Linked DNA regions of Homo sapiens: all the other regions are linked to region 5. The links are contacts of gene promoters, found by promoter capture Hi-C in blood cells and fetal thymus (Javierre and others, 2016). All regions are on one chromosome and are shown on one strand. The core of a region is centred on a gene start or on the middle of the fragment in contact, and the rest is flanking DNA. Distances in the headings are between cores, read along the strand shown.

What was found. The method cuts DNA at HindIII sites, captures the fragments that hold promoters and counts their contacts. A CHiCAGO score of 5 or more calls a contact.
Region 1: a contact is called between a fragment that was not itself captured here and the fragment with the promoter of FAXDC2 in region 5, in 14 of 17 cell types (activated CD4 T cells, erythroblasts, monocytes and 11 more). The highest score is 17.5, in activated CD4 T cells.
Region 2: a contact is called between a fragment that was not itself captured here and the fragment with the promoter of FAXDC2 in region 5, in 7 of 17 cell types (activated CD4 T cells, non-activated CD4 T cells, neutrophils and 4 more). The highest score is 9.1, in activated CD4 T cells.
Region 3: a contact is called between a fragment that was not itself captured here and the fragment with the promoter of FAXDC2 in region 5, in 1 of 17 cell types (activated CD4 T cells). The highest score is 6.7, in activated CD4 T cells.
Region 4: a contact is called between a fragment that was not itself captured here and the fragment with the promoter of FAXDC2 in region 5, in 12 of 17 cell types (activated CD4 T cells, monocytes, total B cells and 9 more). The highest score is 14.1, in activated CD4 T cells.
Region 6: a contact is called between a fragment that was not itself captured here and the fragment with the promoter of FAXDC2 in region 5, in 6 of 17 cell types (non-activated CD4 T cells, activated CD4 T cells, total CD4 T cells and 3 more). The highest score is 7.9, in non-activated CD4 T cells.

The regions. Positions count from the first base shown.
Region 1 is chr5:154,643,129-154,646,208 of GRCh38, forward strand. No RefSeq gene overlaps it. Among named protein-coding and RNA genes, the nearest start is that of MIR1303, 41 kb to the right of the region's middle. The HindIII fragment of the contact is 2,287 bases long and covers 405-2,691 here.
Region 2 is chr5:154,712,359-154,715,747 of GRCh38, forward strand. It overlaps a transcript of LARP1 not described here. Among named protein-coding and RNA genes, the nearest start is that of MIR1303, 28 kb to the left of the region's middle. RefSeq lists enhancers at 30-576, 3,228-3,389 and a cis regulatory region at 3,313. The HindIII fragment of the contact is 396 bases long and covers 1,407-1,802 here.
Region 3 is chr5:154,605,657-154,608,705 of GRCh38, forward strand. No RefSeq gene overlaps it. Among named protein-coding and RNA genes, the nearest start is that of MIR3141, 11 kb to the left of the region's middle. The HindIII fragment of the contact is 1,837 bases long and covers 795-2,631 here.
Region 4 is chr5:154,663,933-154,667,190 of GRCh38, forward strand. No RefSeq gene overlaps it. Among named protein-coding and RNA genes, the nearest start is that of MIR1303, 20 kb to the right of the region's middle. The HindIII fragment of the contact is 322 bases long and covers 1,550-1,871 here.
Region 5 is chr5:154,848,705-154,851,922 of GRCh38, forward strand. FAXDC2 (fatty acid hydroxylase domain containing 2) reads right to left here and starts at 1,899. Exons shown (of 9, transcript NM_032385.5): 1 at 1,779-1,899. The HindIII fragment of the contact is 21,500 bases long and covers 1-3,218 here.
Region 6 is chr5:154,693,223-154,696,323 of GRCh38, forward strand. It overlaps a transcript of LARP1 not described here. Among named protein-coding and RNA genes, the nearest start is that of MIR1303, 9.0 kb to the left of the region's middle. The HindIII fragment of the contact is 4,028 bases long and covers 1-3,101 here.

The DNA of each region.
Region 1 (3,080 bases), core at 298-2,797, 210 kb before region 5:
AACTTTCCATTCCTTTCTTGAACTCTGTTCCTGCCTCTTCTTCACAATCTATTACACAGCTCTCAGGGGCATCAGAAACTGAAACACTATCTTCTTCTATTTGAAACGGTTCTAAAGTTGCTTTAATAATGGCCCAGTCATTCCATACTGTAAGTGGGATGATTTTACCTTCCCTACTTGCTTGTTTTAATTCTTTGCCAATTTTTTCCCAATCTTTTAAATATAAAGTTCCCTGTTCTGGAAACCATGGGCAGAATTGTTCTATTGTTTGAAATAGCATAATTAGATTTTCTGTAGAAGCTTTAACTCCCCCTCTTCTTAAGATAATTTTAATGAAGCTGAGATAAGAGGCATATTTACTTTCAGCTTGCCCCATTGTTACCCTGGATTCCTCCGAGCACACAAGCTTACCGCAAGGTTGACCGTGGACATACTTGGGAATCTCTCATCAGCTGTTCTCAATGTTCACGTTCTTAGCATACCTTCACCCTAGAGAAAGGCCCCAGATTGGGCGCCAGATGAAGGGGTGGCCCGCCCCTCCACACCTGTGGGTATATCTCACCAGGTGGGACAAGAGACTGAGAAAAGAAATAAGACACAGAGGCAAAGTATAGAGAAACAACAGTGGGCCCAGGAGACCGACACTCAGCATACGGAGGGCCTGCACCAGCACTGGTCTTTGAGTTCCCTCAGTTTTTATTGATTATTATTTTCATTATTTTAGCCAAAGGAATGTGGTAGGAGAGCAGGGTGATAATAAGGAGAAGGTCAGCAAAAAAACATGTGAGCAAAAGAATCTATGTCATAATTAAGTTCAAGGAGAGGTACTATGCCTGGATGTGCACATAGGCCAGATTTATGTTTCTCTCTGCCCAAACATCTCAGTGGAGTAAAGAATAACAAGGCAGCATTGCTGCCAACATGTCTCGTCTCCCACCATAGGGTGGTTTTTCTCCCATCTCAGAATTGAACAAATGTACAATCAGGTTTTATACCGAGACATTCGGTTCCCAGGGGCAGGCAGGAGACAGTGGCCTTCCTCTATCTCAAGTGCAAGAGGCTTTCCTCTTTTACTAATCCACCTCAGCACAGACTTTTTACAGGTGTCGGGCTGGGGGACGGTCAGGTCTTTCTCATCCCACGAGGCCATATTTCAGACTATCACATGGGGAGAAACGTTGGACCATACCCAGCTTTTCAGGACAGAGGTCCCTGTGGCTTTTCACAGTGCATTGTGCCCCTGGTTTATTGAGACTAGAGAATGGCGATGACTTTTACCAAGCATAGTGCCTGTAAACATTTTGTTAACAAGGCACATCCTGCACAGCCCTAGATCCCTTAAACCTTGATTCCATACAACACATGTTTTTGTGAGCTCAAGGTTGGGGCAAAGTGGCTGGGGCAATGTTACAAATTAACAACATCTCAGCAAAGCAATTGTTTAAGGTACAGGTCAAAATAGAATCTCTTATGTTTTCCTTTTCTACATAGATACAGCAACAGTCTGATCTCTCTTTCTTTTCCCTAAAAGTAATGATTTTATATTGATTACATGTTAAAATGTAATATTTTTATATAGTAGATGAAATATCTTATTAAAATTACTTTCACTTGTTTGCTTTTATGATTCCTAATGTGGTTATTAGAATATTTAAAATTACATTTGTGATTGCCTTTATATTTCCCTTGGACAGTATTTTAGAGAATGCAGTGGTGAGAGGAACCAGCCTCCCTGAACTTGAGGTCATGGCCCTGTGACTTAGACCAGGCCTCTCATCCTCTCTGAACTTTGGTCGCTTTGTGTTAAAAAAAAAAAAAAAAAAAAAAAAAAACAGAGATAAATCTGCCCCTGTACATCCTCTCAGTGCTATTGTGAGAATCAAATCAAATAATGCACACAAAGCTGTTTTATAGGCTGTAAGAATAATTAAGAGCAACAATTGCGTATTTTTAGCTTTTGCTAGGAGCCAGGCTCAGTGCTAAGTGACTCCACGCATTTCTCTCACAGGCCCTATGAGGCAGGTACCAGTACTACTCCCATTTTGCACATGAGGAAACTGAGTCTGAAAGAGGCTGAGTGACCTGCCCCTTGGCCCACAGCCAGAATGTGGCACTGCCAGGATCCCAAATCAGGCTGACTGAGTCGAGTGCCCACATCCTCAACCCACAGCACACCAAAGGGAAAAAAAAAAACAAAAACCAACCTACCTACTGAGATTTGAAAAGCCAAACCCCAGGCAGGCCGCAGTGGCTCATGCCTGTAATCCTAGAACTTTGGGAGGCCAAGGCGGGCGGATCACCTGAGGTTGGGAGTTCGAGACCAGCCTGGACAACATGGTGAAACCCCGTCTCTACTAAAAATACAAAAAATTAGCCAGGCATGGTGGTGGTCACCTGTAGTCCCAGATACTCAGGAGGTTGAGGCAGGAGAATCACTTGAGCTGGGGAGGTGGAGGCTGCAGTGAGCTGAGATCACTGTCACTGCACTCCAGCCTGGGCAACAAGAGTGAAACTACAACTCAAAAAAAAAAGAAAGAAAAGAAAAGCCGGACCCCAACTCCCAATCGATCTCAGAATCACAGACATCTGCCCACAGTTTTGCAGGTACTGGAGTGCTCTGCTGAGGAGGGTCAGCTGTGGGTCCATCCACACTCCAGCTAATAAGCCTGGGCAGGCCTGTCAACCTCTCTAAGCTTCCTCTAAAGAGTTAAAGCACTCACCCTCTGCTGGTAATTAAATGAGATAATGCCTAGAAAAGTGTTAGCACAAACCGGGCATGGTGGCTCACGCCTGTAATCCCAGCACTTTGGGAGGCCGAGGCAGGTGGATCAACTGAGGTCAGAAGTTCAAGACCAGCCTGGTCAACATGGTGAAACCCCGTCTCTACTAAATACACAAAAATTAGCCGGGCATGGTGGCCGGCACCTGTAATCCCAGCTACTCAGGAGGCTGAGGCAGGAGAATCACTTGAACCTAGGAGGCAGAGGTTGCAGTGAGCAGAGATCGTGCCACTGCACTCCAGACTGGGCAACAAGAGCGAAACTTCGTTCCAAAAAAAAAAGAAAAGTGTTAGCACAATG
Region 2 (3,389 bases), core at 355-2,854, 140 kb before region 5:
TATGGGAAGTCAAAAGCAGGAGACTCGGGTTTGGATCCTCACACCATCCCTCTCTGTCGACCTTCCTTGCAAGGGCTGTGTGAACTGGACAAGCCACTTCACCCCTCCAAGGACTCAGTTGTTCCACTGAAAAGAGAAGATGTACTAATAACTCTGCCCCAGGGTCACTGTGAGATCATGTAGTCTGAACCGCACTAAGCACTTTGCAGAGTGTTTTGCTCTTCCTTTAGCCCCAGCTTGTTTTCCAGGGTGGAGAGTGGAGGTGAGGAAGGAAGCCCAGGACCAGGGCTGTGGAGGAGGGGAGACTCAGCGGGTTGCCACCATTTGTTTACTCACCTGAGTCTCTCTGCCTCTAGCCTAGCTGTGCTCCCCGCTAAGGTAAAGAGGTGGGGTAGCCTTGCTCGGCCAATGAGCTGCCGTCGCTCTCTTAAAGGCACCCAGCGTCTGGAAGGAAAACTAGCCTGGCAACCTGGAGAGCTCCCGGGCCAGAGCCAGGAGGCAGCTGTGCGATCTGGATGTACCTAAACCCTCCAGGGCCACATAGTGACCCCAGGCCCTGGTCACTCCATGCTTTGGAGGGTGCTTTTGTCAAAGAGGCCTCCTTTCCCTCACCCAGAGCTGGATTTCCAAGAGGCTCCCATACCTAGCTGCCCTGGCAGACTCCCAGGGAGGAAAAACAGCGTGGCCTTGGCAGCTGCCCCGAGGAAGGAGCCCACAGGTGACAGGGAGAAGCCATTGCCATTCCCTGTCCTGGCCCCCTTCAGCAACCCTGGTGAGTCCTAGCACTCTGCGTTTCTTGAACCTCAGGACAGCAGGGTGTGGTAGGAAGATCCTTCTCCCTAGGGGCAGAAACCTTGGGTGCTGGTTCCAGCCCTGCTGTGTGACCCTGAGCGAGTCACTCCAGCTCTCTGAACCTCACATTCCCCATCTGGGAAAATGAGGAGCTCAAATTCCACTCTCAGCTTTCCTCTTCTATTGTTTTCCCTTGTCACACCCCTTGTTCTGAAAGATTTAAGTCTGTCAGCTGCACCTGTTACATAATAATTTGTTAATTGGTTTTCCTCTTCTATGTGAATTGTGGCCCTGTAATAGCCAATCAGTGTTTTTTGGTTAGCAGACACAAACCACTAAATTGATGCAGGTTTAGCCAAAAGCAGTGTAGTATTTTATTCTGTCTGTGAGATCTTATCTAGAGTCGATATTTGATTTTCATTTGACCTTTTGAAATATGAGAAATAGAGCATTTGTGAGTAATTTCCAGGGAATGGGGTCCCCAGGTGGGGAACTCCTAGATCTAGTTTGCATGGGGTTTATAAGGACACCAGCAAAATCCTGCCTTCACGCCCAAGCTGAGCTTTGGTCTCTGCAGTGCTGCCTCACACACAGGGTTCATTCTTGAAAGTGAAAGCTTTGGACTTAAAAATTTCCTATGTGGAGAGACTGCTCCCAGGAGTCCCCACAGTGAGTTTACCCCACCTCTAGCTGGCTGAGGCTAGGGAAGCCTGGTTGGGGGAGCTGAGGTCTCCCTCAGCCCTCTGTTAGGGTGTGGCCAGGAGAGTGATGGGAACAGGTAGGTATGAACACAGGGCCTGGAGGCCAGGAATATATGGTAGATACCGCTTGTGCTGAAAATCAGGAGCTAGGCCTGCAGTTCTGGTTCTGCACTGACTAGCTCTGTGACCTCAGGCAAATTGTTTACCTCTTTGAACTCAGTTTTCCCAGCTGCAAAATGGGGATTGTAATCTGGGCAATGCTTGCCTACCAGGATTGTTCTTATGACCAAACAAAGTCTGTTCCATGGAAGCTTAGATTCCACAGATTTTAAGATAAATTCAGATTTAAAAATACATTTTGGGATTGATGAGGTAAGGTAATGAATGTTTTGTAAAATGCGGCCTCTGTAGTAATTATTTTCTCCAATCACTGTGTGATAATAATTAATGTGATAAAAGAATTACTGATTATGATGGAATCGTGGCTGCTTGTTTAAATCCTTTTACTTTAAAAAAATACCATTTACTGGGACTTTTTGAAATGTACAATCATATAAACAAAAAGAAAGGGGAAATAGCTCACTGAGTCATGGTATTTTCTAACGACTCGTGGGATGGGAACCCAGTCCTGGAATGTGGCCCCATTGGAAGCAGCAGGATAATACAATGGTTAGAACAGGCATGTTGGAGTAGAGGATCTTGGGCTCAAATATATACTGTAAGACCTACTGATGACCCTGGGTGTAAGTCACTTTTCTTTTCAAAGCCCCTTCTGTGCAGTCACTTGAGCTTCAGCCACCCTGTTCTCTCCTTTCCTGCAGCTCCCTGCTGAGTAAATAAATCTCAGAGAATGTTGGTTTCAAGGGTTGTGGCAGCACCCTCTCTCGGGGTAGAGCCTATGGTAGAAGGAGTGGAGTGAAAGTGAAAGCCAAAACAGTTTCTAGGAATAGGGAACTCAGGCAGGTATTTGAGTAACAATGTGTGTGAGCGTTGTGTGCGTATACGCATGTGTGCATGTGCACAGGAGCTAATGAAATTAAAAATGAAGCCGGGTGCGGTGGCTCACGCCTATAATCCTAGCACTTTGGGAGGCTGAGGCAGGCAAATCATGAGGTCAGGAGTTTGAGACCAGCTTGGCCAACATGGTGAAACTCCGTCTCTACTAAAAATACAAAAAAATTAGCTGGGCGGAGTGGTGGGCACCTGTAATCCCAGCTACTCAGGAGGCTGAGGCAGGAGAATCGCTTGAACCCGGGAGGCAGAGGTTGCAGTGAGCCGAGATCACGACACTGCACTCCAGCCTGGGCGACAGAGCGAGACTCTGTCTCAAAAAAAAGAAGAAATTAAAGTTGAAGATTTTAAGGCCCCTGAAGGGTCATGTTAGCCAGTCCCCTGCTCTGGGGCAAGCCTCTCTTTTTTTTTTTTTTTTTTTTTGAGTCAGTTTCACTTATTGCCCAGGCTGGAGTGCAATGGCTTGATCTCGGCTCACCGCAACCTCCGCCTCCCGGGTTCAAGCGATTCTCCTGCCTCAGCCTCCTGAGTAGCTGGGATTACAGGCATGTGCCACCACGCTCAGCTCATTTTGTATTTTTAGTAGGTCAGGCTGCTCTTGAACTCCCGACCTCAGGTGATCTGCCCGCCTCGGCTTCTCAAAGTGCTGGGATTACAGGCATGAGCCACCGTGCCCGACCAAGCCTGTCTTTTAACCAACACTGAAACGTTGCTGCTGAACACCAGGGAAGACTCCTAAACGTTTTCCTTGGTAACCAGCCTTGGCATCTCAAAATCCTCCCAAGAGTGAATGCGGGGTGTGTGCGAATATTTTTTGAGTGCCTTGGGTATCTGAGTTAGAGTTCCAGGGACACCGAATGACCAAACCTTGGGGAAAAAATAGAT
Region 3 (3,049 bases), core at 463-2,962, 240 kb before region 5:
AAAATACCCCAGGTTTATTTCTTACTCACACTGCATGTCCAACACAGGTCAGCATGAGTTTCTGTTCACCCAGTGACTCAGGGACAGGGGCTGGTGGACCCTCCACCTTGACACATTTGCAAGATCACTGTGGCAAGGTGAAGCAAACTTGGGGACTCACACACTGGCTTATAGTTTCTACTGCTAACATTTCATGGTTAAAGTAATCACATGGATATGTCTAACCTCAAAGGGGACAGGACAGTATAATCCTACCTTGCGCCGGGAAGGAGGAGGAAAATGACTTCCACATGCCCCACAGTCCAGGGGGAGAGGCGTAAATAGGGTAAACCACAACTCTGATGGAGTTAAGTCCTTACTGTGTTACAGGAACACAGAGGAGAAGCAACTTTATTGGGAGGCCTAGGGGGGCCTTCATTGCCCAGGTGACCTGTGAGCCTAGCATGGAGATCAGGGGTTATTAAGTTGGGGTCCAAGGATCCATAATTGCATGGCTGGCCTTCAGGGACCCAAAACTTCCTGAAACTTCAAAATCTTGGATGTAGGTGAGTTTATGCATTTTCGCAAGAAGAAAGTCCTTAACTTTCATTATCTAAGACTTGGGCTGCCAGATGGTCACTACGTCTTTCTTCTGACTTTTGTCTTTCTATTATAGTGTACCATATCTTAAAGTGCAATGCTCAAACCACCCGCAGCAGACAATCTAGACAGTTGTCAAAAATGCATAGCCCAAGGCCCAGCTCTGACCAACTGAATTGGAATCTCTGGGGGTGGTTCCAATCTGCATTTTAACAAGCTTCCCAGGTAGCCCTCATACATCTTGAAGTCTGTGGTTCTCTCAGCCAGAGATAGCACTCTCCCAGCCCAGTTAGGCTGTGAAGAAAGCACAGAGAGAGCTGAGCCACACGGTTGAGAAGAATCCTCCAAGGCCAGAGAGCACTTTACAGTTTCCAGAGGGCCACCACCTCGTGCCTTATCCAACCTCACTGCAGAACGGTGGAGTGGAGGTGCCAGCTCTCCACTGGCACAAAAGAGGTGCTCAATGAATATCACCTAGCGAAATGACAGGAAATGAAAAGAGAGCCAAACAAGACAGGATGGCCTAAAAATGACATGCCCTGAAATCAGACCACCCTGAGTTCAAATTTCAGTCTTGCCAGTTCCTAGTTGGGTAATCTCGGACAAGTTACCCTACCTCTCAGGACCTCAGCTTCCTTGTCTGTCATCAGGAATGTGTCTTTCTTCCCTCTAGGACTGTGTTGGCACACAGCACAGCTTCTCTAAAGGTCACCAGAAGGATCCTAAGTGCTTTAATAATTCTCGTGTCAGGCCTCCTCAACTCCATTCTAGAGGTGAGGGGAGGGAGTCCTGGAGATGGCTCCCCTAGAAGCACTAGAAGCATGATTCATGCCCTGGCAAAGCCCGTCCCCACCAAGCCCTGGGTCTTGTCCTCGTCTTCCCAGAGTCATGCTGGCCAGAGCTGAGACTCCATGCTATCATGTGAGCAGTCAGCCCTAGACACTCACATTCACCCCTGCCAGGAAAAGGGGATTCCTTTGTCCCTGATAACTCCTGGGGACCCACCCTGGCACAGGTAGGCAGACCCCCAGGAGGCAAGGCTGATGGTTAAATCAGGGGTTCCAGCCCACCTGTGCTGAAGAAGAACCTGGAAAGTGTGTTCAATGCCCAAATTTCTGGTCCCACCCCTGGCAATTCTCATTCTGCAGCTTTGGATTAGAGCCCAGGGATGGCATTTTAACAAATTCCCAGGGATTCTGATCTTCAGCCAGATCCCGGAGCCGCTGCTCTGACCTCCAGGTGGTTTAGAATGTGTGGTTTGGGGGCCAGGCGCAGTGGCTCATGCCTGTAATCCCAGCACTTTGGGAGGCTGAGGCAGGCAGATCACCTGAGGTCAGGAGTTCAAGACCAGCCTGGCCAACATGTAAGACCCCGTCTCTACTGAAAATTCAAAAATTAGCTGGGCGTGGTGGCAGGCGCTGGTAATCCCAGCTACTGGAGAGGCTGAGACAAGAGGATTCCTTTATTTTCTTTTTTTAATTTTTTGAGACGGAGTCTCACTCTGTCACCCAGGCTGGAGTGCAGAGGCGTGATCTCGGTTCACAGCAAAAGGAGGATTGTTTTAACCCAGGAGGCAGAGGTTGCGGTGAGCCAAAACTGCACCATTGCACTCCAGCCTGGGCAACAAGAGCAAAACTCTGTCTCAAAAAAAAAAAAAAAAAAAAAAACAATGTGTGGTTTGGAATGTCTGGTAGGCAGATGGAATCCTGGCCACCCAGGATCCTGTCCCCAACAGGGATGCTGCTTCATGCTAAGCCCTTTCCCTCTGCAGGTTGCCACCAGCCCGCCCATCTCCACCATGCCCTATGCTACCCTTCCTTGTGGCCTGAGCCTGGTGGTGGGAGCAGGTCTGCAAGGAGAAGGCACAACTGGATTTTTAGATGGATTGGGTGGTAGAATGAGTTCTGGGCTGGGGGATAAGAAATCCCAGCAGAAACCCTTCTGTTTTCTATATCCCTTTCAGGCTCTCAGAGCCTCAACTTCCTCATCTGTATACAGGGCTTATTCCCCTGATGGAAAATTAGAGATGGACACTTACCATGGAGCTAGTGAAGCTTAGGTCTCAGGGGACCTCATGTACACATGGCTCTTCTAAAGCCCTGCACCTAATTTTGTTTTCTCTTCCTTAAACAGGGGCCCATAAAATCCACACCAGGCCCTGACTGTAAGAGTGGCTATGAAAATGCCAAATGAGGGATAAAACCAGAGGGCTTTCACCTAGGGAACTCACCACCTCCAAAAGGGGAAGAGAGCCCTCCTAAGGTGCTCCTGGAGCTCCCCTCCTCACCAGCTTTGGTTTCTCCACTTTCCTACCGGATGAGTCCTGCCTCTTCCTGCCTGGGAGTTTATCAGCAGGGAGTGGCAGGGCCTGCTAATCAGGGGCTGCTCCAGGCCCCCGGGATTAACCCTGCAGACCCTGGGCCAGGGTCAGCAGCCCCGGCTACCAGTTATGCTCCCGGGTTCTCATCTG
Region 4 (3,258 bases), core at 461-2,960, 180 kb before region 5:
TCTGTGCATCTGCAGGCTTAACAGCATGTAGAAGCCACCAAGGCTTATGGCTTGTGCCTTCTGAAGTGGCAGCCCAAGCTGTACCTGGGGCCCTTTGAGTCATGGCTGGAGCTGAAGCAGTGGGCATGAGGGGAGCAGCCTCTGGAGGTGGTGCAGGGCATTGGTGCCCTGAGCCTGGCCCAGAAAACCATTCTTTCCTCCTCCTTCTAGGCCTATGGACCTGTGATGGAAGGGGCTTTCCAAAAACCTTCTGAAATGGCTTTGAGGCCTCTTTCCCATTGTCTTGGATATTAACACCTGGCTGCCTTTTAGTCATGTTGATCTCTGTAGCAAGTGGTTACTCCACAGCCTACTTGGATTCTTTCTCCACCACTGGGCCAGGCTGCAAATTTTTCGAACTTTTATGCTCTACTCTTCTTTTAAAAATAAATTCCAACTTTGTTATTTCTTTGTTCCCATATCTCATTTAGATTATTAGAAGTGGCCAGACCACATCTTGAATGCTTTGCTGCTTAGCAATTTCTTCCACCAGATACCAGAGGTCGTCACCCTTAAGTTCAAACTTCCAAAGAGCCCTCAGACATGGACACAATGCTCCAAGTTCTTTGTTAGGTCATAAAACGGGTGTCCTTTACTCCAGTTCCTAATAACCTCCTCATTTCTTTGCTTTTTTTTTTTTTTTTTTTTTAGTTTTGCTGTTGTCGCCCAGGCTGGAGTGCAGTGGCACGATCTCGGCTCACTGCAGCCTCCACCTCCCAGGTTCAAGTGATTCTCATGCCTCAGCCTCCCTAGTAGCTAGGATTACAGGCACGCACTACCATGCCCGGCTAATTTTTGTATTTTTAGTAGAGATGGGGGTTTCACCATGTTGGCCAGCCTGGTCTCAAACTCCTGACCTCAGGTGATCTGCCCACCTCAGCCTCCCAAAGTGCTGGGATTACAGGCATGAGCCACTGTGCCCTGCCTAACTTCCTCATTTCTATCTTAGACCTTGTCAGCCTGGCCTTCACTGTCCATGTTACTATCAGCATTTTGGTCAAAATCATTTGTCTTCTCATCTTCTTGTCTTCTTCTGAGCCCTCCAAATTCTTTCAACTTCAGCCTGTTACCCAATTCCAAAGTCACTTCCACATTTTCAGATATCTTTATAGTAACACCCTACTCCTGGTACCAATTTTCTGGGGTTTTTTTTGTTTGTTTGTTTTTTGTTTTTTGTTTTTTGTTTTTTTGTTTTTTTTTTTTTGACATGGAGTTTCACTCTTGTTGCCCAGGCTGGAGTGCAATGGCATGATCTTGGCTCTCTGCACCCTCCACCTTCTGGGTTCAAGTGATTCTCCTGCCTCAGCCTCCCGAGTAGCTGGGATTACAGGTGTGAGCCCCCACGCCTGGCCTCTGGTATCAATTTTCTGTGTTAAGCCATTGTCATATTGCTATAAATAAATACCTGAGGCTGAGTAATTTATAAAGAAAAGAGTATTAATTGGCTCACAATTCTGCAGGCTGTACAAGAAGCATAATGCCAGCAACTCCTTCTGGTGAGGCCTCAGGAAGCTTACAATCATGGTGGAAGGCAAAGGGGGAGCAGGTACATCACAGGGCAAGAGTGGGAGCATGAGAGAGAAGGGGGAGGTCCCAGACTCTTTGAAACAACCAGATCTTACATGAACTAAGAGGATGGTGCTAATCCATTCATGAGGCATCTGCCTCCATGATCCAATCACTTTTCATGAGGCCCCACATCCAACATTGGGAATTATATTTCAATATGAGATTTGGCAGGGACAAACGTTCATACCATATCATTTGGGGAGGTGAGATTCACTCTAGGCTGGTCAAGAAATAGTAGAGAAATAGTACATACATATAGAAAAAGCTTCACATTGGGGTCACCTGGGCTGGGCTTCTAGCCCCTGCAAACTCTCTGTGAGGCAAGGCCTGCAGCCTCACAGCACCTCAGTTATCACATCTGTGAAATGGGTGGGTTGAACTCTTGCTTGACGGTGTTCTTGCTAGAAGTGGAAAATCTCTAGGCATCCAGGCCTCCTTTTCCTTTCTCTTCTTACCTGGAAGGCAGCAAGAGGTGGTGGGGAGAACACTAAACAGGGGAAAGGACTAAACTGGGAGCTGTGCAGCCTCATTCTGGCTCTGCCAACATCCTGGGTGACCTCAAGCAAGTTCCTCTTTCTCTCTGAGCCTTGGCTCCCAGGAATTTGAAACATGCACAGCCTGGTCGAGCTCAGAGCTGGCTTCTGCCTGCCCTTAAAATCTGATGGCTGGTCAGGGATTCAGTATTCATTGGATTCTCAGGGCCTCATGTGCTAGGCTGAAATGCTATCCCCATACCTCCTTGTTCCTTGTCAGAGGGCCAGACTGTACACTATTCACTCAACAAATCTTTATTCAGTACCTCCTATTTCCAGGCCACAGGGCAGACTGGAGCCCAGAAGAGAGAAAAAACAGGTATTCTCAATTATCTATATTCCATGCCACTTAATCAGGATTCCATAAATATTCACTTGGAGTTCAGAGCTAAGCTGTGGAAAAGAAAGGAGTCAAGTGTAGACTTTTTCCTAAGAGGAGCTTGAGACCTCAAGAAGAGAAGGCATTTGTTCATTCATTCACTCACTCACTCTTTCATTCATTGAACAAATACTTATTGAGCACTTACTCTGTACTCGGCCCTGTGATTTGTACAAAACAGACACAGGCTCTGTTCTCAAAGAAAATTCAGTCTAGGCCCGGCACGGTGGCTCATGCCTGTAATCCCAGGACTTTGGGAAGCTGAGGCAGGTGGATCACCTGAGTTCAGGAGTTCGAGACCAGCCTGGCCAACATGGTGAAACCCGGTCTCTACTAAAAATACAAAAAATTAGCCAGTTGTGGTGGCGCACACCTGCAATCCCAGCTACTCAGGAGGCTGAGGCAAGAGAATCGCTTGAACCTGGAAGGCAGAGGTTGCAGTGAGCAGAGATCGTGCCACTGTACTCCGGCCTGGGCAACAAGAATGAAACTCTGTCTCAAAAAAAAGAAATTTCAGTCTAGTGGAAGAAGCAGACCTGAAAGAGATAAACACACCATTACAAATATTATTACACATTGTGATGGCTTACATTTTAAAAATGGTATGAGAGGCTGGGCACAGTGGCTCATGCCTGTAATCCCAGCACTTTGGGAGGCCGAGGCAGGTGGATCACTTGAGCCCAGGAGTTTGAGAACAGCTTGGGCAACATGACGAGACCCTGTCTGTAGAAAAAACAA
Region 5 (3,218 bases), core at 649-3,148:
ATCTGTAATCCCAGCACTTTGGGAGGCCGAGGTGGGCAGATCACCTGAGGTCAGGAGTTTGAGACCAGCCTGGCCAACATGGCGAAACTCCGTCTCTACTAAAAATATAAAAATTAGCCGGGTGTGGTGGTGCACGCCTGTAATCCCAGCTGCTCTGGAGGCTGAGACAGGAGAATCGCTTGAACCTGGGAGGCGGAGGTTGCAGTGAGCCAAGATCATGCCACTGCACTCCAGCCTGGGCGCCAGAGCAAGAGTCTGTCTCAAAAAAACAAAAAAAAACAAAGATGAAATGCGGCTGGGCACGTTGGCTTATGCCTGTAATCTCATAACTTTGGGAGGCCGAGGTGGGTAGATCACCTGAGGTCAGGAGTTGGAGACCAGCCTGGCCAACATGGTGAAACCCCATCTCTACTAAAAATACGAAAATTAGCTGGGTGTGGTGGCGGGCACCTGTAATCCCAGCTACTTGGGGGGCTGAGGCAGGAGAATCTCTTGAACCCAGGAGGTGGAGGTTGCAGTGAGCTGAAATCGCGCCACTGTACTCCAGCCTGGGTGACAGAACGAGATTCCATCTCAAAAAACAAAAAAAACAAAAACAGAAGATGAAATGCATGAAAGGAAAGGTTAAAAATGATTCCCATGGGCCAGTTTTAGTAATACTCTCTTCACTCCTTTTGCTGCATGGTACTTGCACCCTTTGAGCTTACTGTTCTGCTTGATTGCATGTCCATGAGGCCGAGAATCTGCCTGTCTTGTTTACCACGAGATCCACAGAATCAAGCCCAAGCCTGGCATGTAGAAGATACTCAAGAAAGATTTGCCGAATAAATAAGAGATACACGAATCAAAAGCATTGCTTTTTGCCCTCAAAAAGTGTTCAACATTTGCTATGGAACATTTTAGCACCATTCCCTTGTGCTAATTACTTTCGTAACTAAAGTTAGAAGCTGATGCTCAGTGCATCTGTGTTTTAGCAAATTGAATTGAATCTGTATATCCCACTCAAAGAAATTTAATTGGAATTGCACATGAAACTGAAGCAACCCACAAATCAGCATCTTGTCTTGCTTGCCTTAAGCCCCAGAAGGTCCTGAAAGCCACTGTTCTATTGTTCATCTCCACCTACACACTTTACTGTATGCCCTTTACTCAATAACCTTCGTGGAGTGTTTCCATAGGTACTATCAAGCCACTAACGATTTCACAACTGGAGCCACTGTTGGTAAATCCAAGTATGTTGCATCAAAACAGTTTCAACCTACTTGTCTAGCTCATAGCCCACACATCTATCCAGAGACTTTAAAACTGTTGTATTTTGCCCCATACCTTCCTGGTGATGGCAGAGTAGAGATGAGAAGCAATTAGGCAGCAGTTGCTTCCCAACAGTCTCTTCCAGTTTGTTCTGCCTCTCATTTGAGTTCTGAATTAGGAGTTGCTCCTTTACAAATGGTTTTAAAGTCAAACAATTACTTGTCCATTACAATCACCTGTCAATTGCTAGAAAAATTAGACTACTGAGGAGGTAGATGGTACAAACACAGGCAGAGGATACAGACATTAGTAAGAGACAAGGAGGCGACTGCACTACAGCAATGTCCTAGGACAAATTCTAACCCTGCCATCTAACCCTGTTTAGAGGCAAATCTAACCCTGCCATAAGTAGAGAGGACAGGGTGGTGGCAGAGGTGGGAAGAGTGTTGTTTTGCCCTTACTTTAAGTGAACCTGGACATGTCCTGACCTTTGCAAACACCACCCCTCCCCCGTAGTTCCCACTTACCTCTGCAGTGGGCTGTGTCCAAGCTGCTGAGGTCCTTGCACAGGTCAAATCTAAGTTCTCTTCCCTTTCAGCCCCCGCTTTGGTGGCTGTTGCTGCTGCGGCTCTGCTGCAGGCTAACCTTGTTTTTGCTCGGGTGGGAGGCTGGCCATGGTGATCTCATTACAGAGCTGCGTACTGGCTCGGACCAGGCACGTGATGAAAAAAGTTTGGGTCTGTGTGGGCTGGAAACAAAACACCCTTCTTTCCAGAGGGCATGTCCTTAAAGCGGAAAGGGAATCTAAGCTCAAGCAGGAACTTGAAAAACGTGCATTTGGCCAAACTCTGGGCTTCCCTCCCCCTGCCCCCTTTTTTTCTTTTAAAAAATTTTCTCCATCATCTGCAACTTAAGAAAATGTCGCTGTCCCATAGGAGGAGGCAGATTCAAGAAAAGATGTGGGTGTCAGATAATGGCAGGTAGTACAAGTTGATAAAAAGGTGACAGAGACCAGAGGATCTCATTTTCTTTTTTTTCATTGCTTCTTTTCCTGTGGAGGGCAGGCAAGGGAGGAGAGATGCATCAGCTATTTCTAGTGAGTCTAGATGCAGGAAAGGCATGCCTGTGGAGGGTAAATTTGCACTGTGATTGAAATAGGGGAACTTAGGATACAGGACCCATGACATGAAGTGAGGAGCACTTTGGAAAAAGAGCTGCTTTTAAATTTCTGAAAACTTTTTAAATAAGCAAATGTGCAAATGATATAAAATACAATAGGGTCAAAAGAATGTACAATGAAAAGTCTTTTTTTAATTTCTCCTCAGTCCCCTTTTTTTCCTCCCAAGAGACAACCTCTGTGACCAGATTTTTGTATATCCTTCCAGAGCTTACCTCTGTAAATAGAAACATGTGTAGGCCTTGTGCTTCTCCTTTAGCAACAGCACCATAGTATGTTTGTTGTGCACCTTGCTTTTTCCACTTAACAATCAAACATGGAGATTGGCTAGGCATGGTGGTGCTCACCTGTAGTCCCAACTATTTGGGAGGCTGAGGTTGGAGGATCACTTGAGCCCAGGTATTTGAGACCAGCCTGGGCAGCACAGGAAGACTCCTTTCTAAAATAAACAAAACTCAGAAACTTGGCTGGGCACGGCGGCTCACATGTATAATCTCAGCACTTTGGAAGACCAAGACGGGAGGATCACTTGAGGCCAGGAGTTCAAGACCAGCCTGGGCAATGTAGCAAAACCCCATTTCTACTACATATACAAAAAATTAGTAGAGCTTACTGGCACATGTCTGTTATCCCAGCTACTGGGGAGGCTGAGGTGGGAGGATGGCTTGAGCCCAGGAGTTGGAGGCTGCAGTGAGCTATGATTGTGCCCTGCACTCCAACCTGAGTGACAGAGTGGGACCCTGTCTCTAAAAAACAAAACAAAATAAAAAATGCCGGGTGCAGTGGCTCA
Region 6 (3,101 bases), core at 32-2,531, 160 kb before region 5:
AAACTGTTGGGCTCAAGCAATCCTCCCACCTCAGCCTCCTAAGTAGCTGGGACCACAGGCATGAGCCACCACGCCCTGCTAATTTTTTATTTCGTTGTAGAGACGGATTTTGCCATGTTGCCCAGGCTCACAAGCAGGTTTCTAAAGACAAAAAAAGAATAGGGAGAGGGCTATTACAGAGTTGTGTGTCAGGAATTCTCATTGGTTTACAGAAATAACATTGGTTCGTGATTGGCCTGGCAAGCAGTTTTAAGAGATGAATACATAGCTTAAAGTGGGATGTAGGACTGATTACTGTCTCATTTATTAATTTAAAAGGACTTGAATTGCCCAGATGAAAGTTCTTTTCTCGACTGGGCGCGGTGGCTCACACCTGTAATCCCAGCACTTTGGGAGGCCGAGGCGGGCGGATCACGAGGTCAGGAGATCAAGACCATCCTGGCTAACACAATGAAACCCCGTCTCTACTAAAAAATACAAAAAATTAGCCGGGCGTGGTGGCGGGCTCCTGTAGTCCCAGCTACGCGGGAGGCTGAGGCAGGAGAACGGCGTGAACTGGAGAGGCGGAGCTTGCAGTGAGCCGAGATCGCGCCACTGCACTCCAGCCTGGGCGACAGAGCAAGACTCCGTCTAAAAAAAAAAAAAAAAAAGAAAGAAAGTTCTTTTCTCACCCCTAATAGGATGGAGTAGACTACATAGCTCCACCTATTTTGGCTCCTGTGAAAAATATTGAGCCTGAATCTAATGAGGCCTATAAGAACTAGCTTCAGTTACGAAAAGTTCAGGGGATAGAGGAACACGTTAAACAACACACAAAGAAGCAATCAGACAAAGCCAGAATGTGAAACAGTTTATAAGACAACTGCCATAATCTCTTAAAAGCCAATGTTGTAAAAACAAAAAAAAGTAATGGGGAGGAGGTTCTAGATTTAAAGAGACCTAATAGTCTAACAAGCCAAATATAAGATGTGATTCTTGATTATATCTTGATTTATTACTATAAAAAAATAAGGACCACGTTTTTATTTTTATCATATTTATTTATTTATTTTGAGACAGGGTCTCACTCTGTTGCCCAGGCCGAAGTGCAGTGGTGTGATCCTAGCTCACTGCAAGCTCAAATTCCTAGACTCAAGCCATCCTCCCTCTTCAGCCTCCCCACAGCTGGGACTATAGGTGCAAGACATCATACCTGGCCATTTTTTTTTTTTTATTTTAGTAGAGATGACATCTCACTACATTGCCCAGGCTGGCCTGGAACTCCTAGCTTCAAGCCACCTTCCCACCTTGACTTCCCAAAGCACTGAGATTACAGGTGTAAGCGACTATACCTGGCCCACCATGCTTTAGACAATGGGGAAATTTCACTATGAACTTGGTATTAGATGATATAAGAAAATTATTGCTAATTTTGTGAGACGTGTTAAGTGTATTGTTATGGAAGAGAATGATCTAATTTTTGGAAATACATGCTGAAGTGTTTAGGGTTGAAGTGTTAGAATATCTGTAATTAGCTTTAAAATGCTTTAGCCACAGATTTTATATATAGTGAGATGGAGAAAACAGTAAAATGTTGACAATTGTTGCTATGTGATTGATGTATAGGTATTTGGTTTATTGTTTTTTTTTATTTTTCTGATATTTTCAAAAGAAAAATTTTCTTTCCCTTTTTTTTGTTATTGTTGTTGAGACAGGGTTTCAACTCCTGGACTCAAGCAATCTTCCTGCCTCAGCCTCCCAAAGTGTTGGGATTACAGGCGTGAGCCACTGCACCTGGCCCAAAATAAAAAGTTTTTTAAAAAACACTTCTAGGCTGGGCACGGTGGCTCACGCCTGTAATCCCGGCACTTTTGGAGGCCGAGATGGGCGGATTACGAGGTCAGCAGATCGAGACCAATCTGGCTAACATGGTGAAACCCCGTCTCTACTAAAAATACAAAAAATTAGCCAGGCGTGTTGGTGGGTGCCTGTAGTCCCAGCTACTCGGGAGGCTGAGGCAGAATGGCGTGAACCTGGGAGGCGGAGCTTGCAGTAAGCAGAGATCGCCTCACTGCACTCCAGCCTGGGGGACAGAGTGAGACTCCGTCTCAAAAAAAGAAAAAAAAGAAAAAGCACTTCTTCAGTGCTCTAATAGCAAATTTGGGGCCCTCATTAATATCACAATATGGCTTATGCATGTAAATCCCAGTACTTTGGGAGGCCGAGGCGGGCAGATCACGAGGTCAGGAGCTCGAGACCAGCCTGACCAACATGGTGAAACCCCGTCTCTACTAAAAATACAAAAATCAGCTGGGCATGGTGGCGCGCGCCTGTAAACCCAGCTACTCAGGAGGCTGAGGCAGGAGAATCACTTGAACCTGGGAGGCGGAGGTTGTAGCGAGCCAAGATCGTGCCACTGCATTCCGGCCTGGAAGACAGAGCAAGGCTCCGTCTCAAAAAAAAGAGTTATAGACTACCCTGGCCAACATGGTGAAACCCTGTCTCTATTAAAAATACAAAAAGTAGCCAGGCGTGGTGACGCATACCTGTAATCCCAGCTACTTGGGCGGCTGAGGCAGGAGAATCCCTTGAACCCGGGAGGCAAAGGTCACAGTGAGCCAAGATCGTGCCGCTGCACTCCAGCCTGGGCGACAGAGCAAGACTCTATCTCGAAAAAAAAAAAATTACAATATATTGCTGGCATACATCACCTCCATACACGGAATCACAATATATGGAGGTGATGTACGCTAGTAGGTCTTGCCATTCAGATGACAGATTATGGGCTCCTGGGGATAGCAGCTAGGTTTAGATCAACTATATTTATCTCAGAGTGTCCAGTACATAATAAATATTCAACAAATACTCATTGAGGCTGGGCACGGTGGCTCACTCCTATAATCCTAGCACTTTGGGAGGCCAAGGCAGGGAGATTGCTTGAGACCAGGAGTTTGAGACCAGCCAGGGTAACACGGAGAAACACTTTTTCTACAAAAAATTAAAAAATTAGCCAGGCATGGTGGCATGTGCCTGTAGTCCCAGCTACTTGGGAGGCTGAGGTGGGAGAATTGCTTGAGCCTGGGAGGTTGAGGCTGCAGTGAGCCGATATTGTGCCACTACTC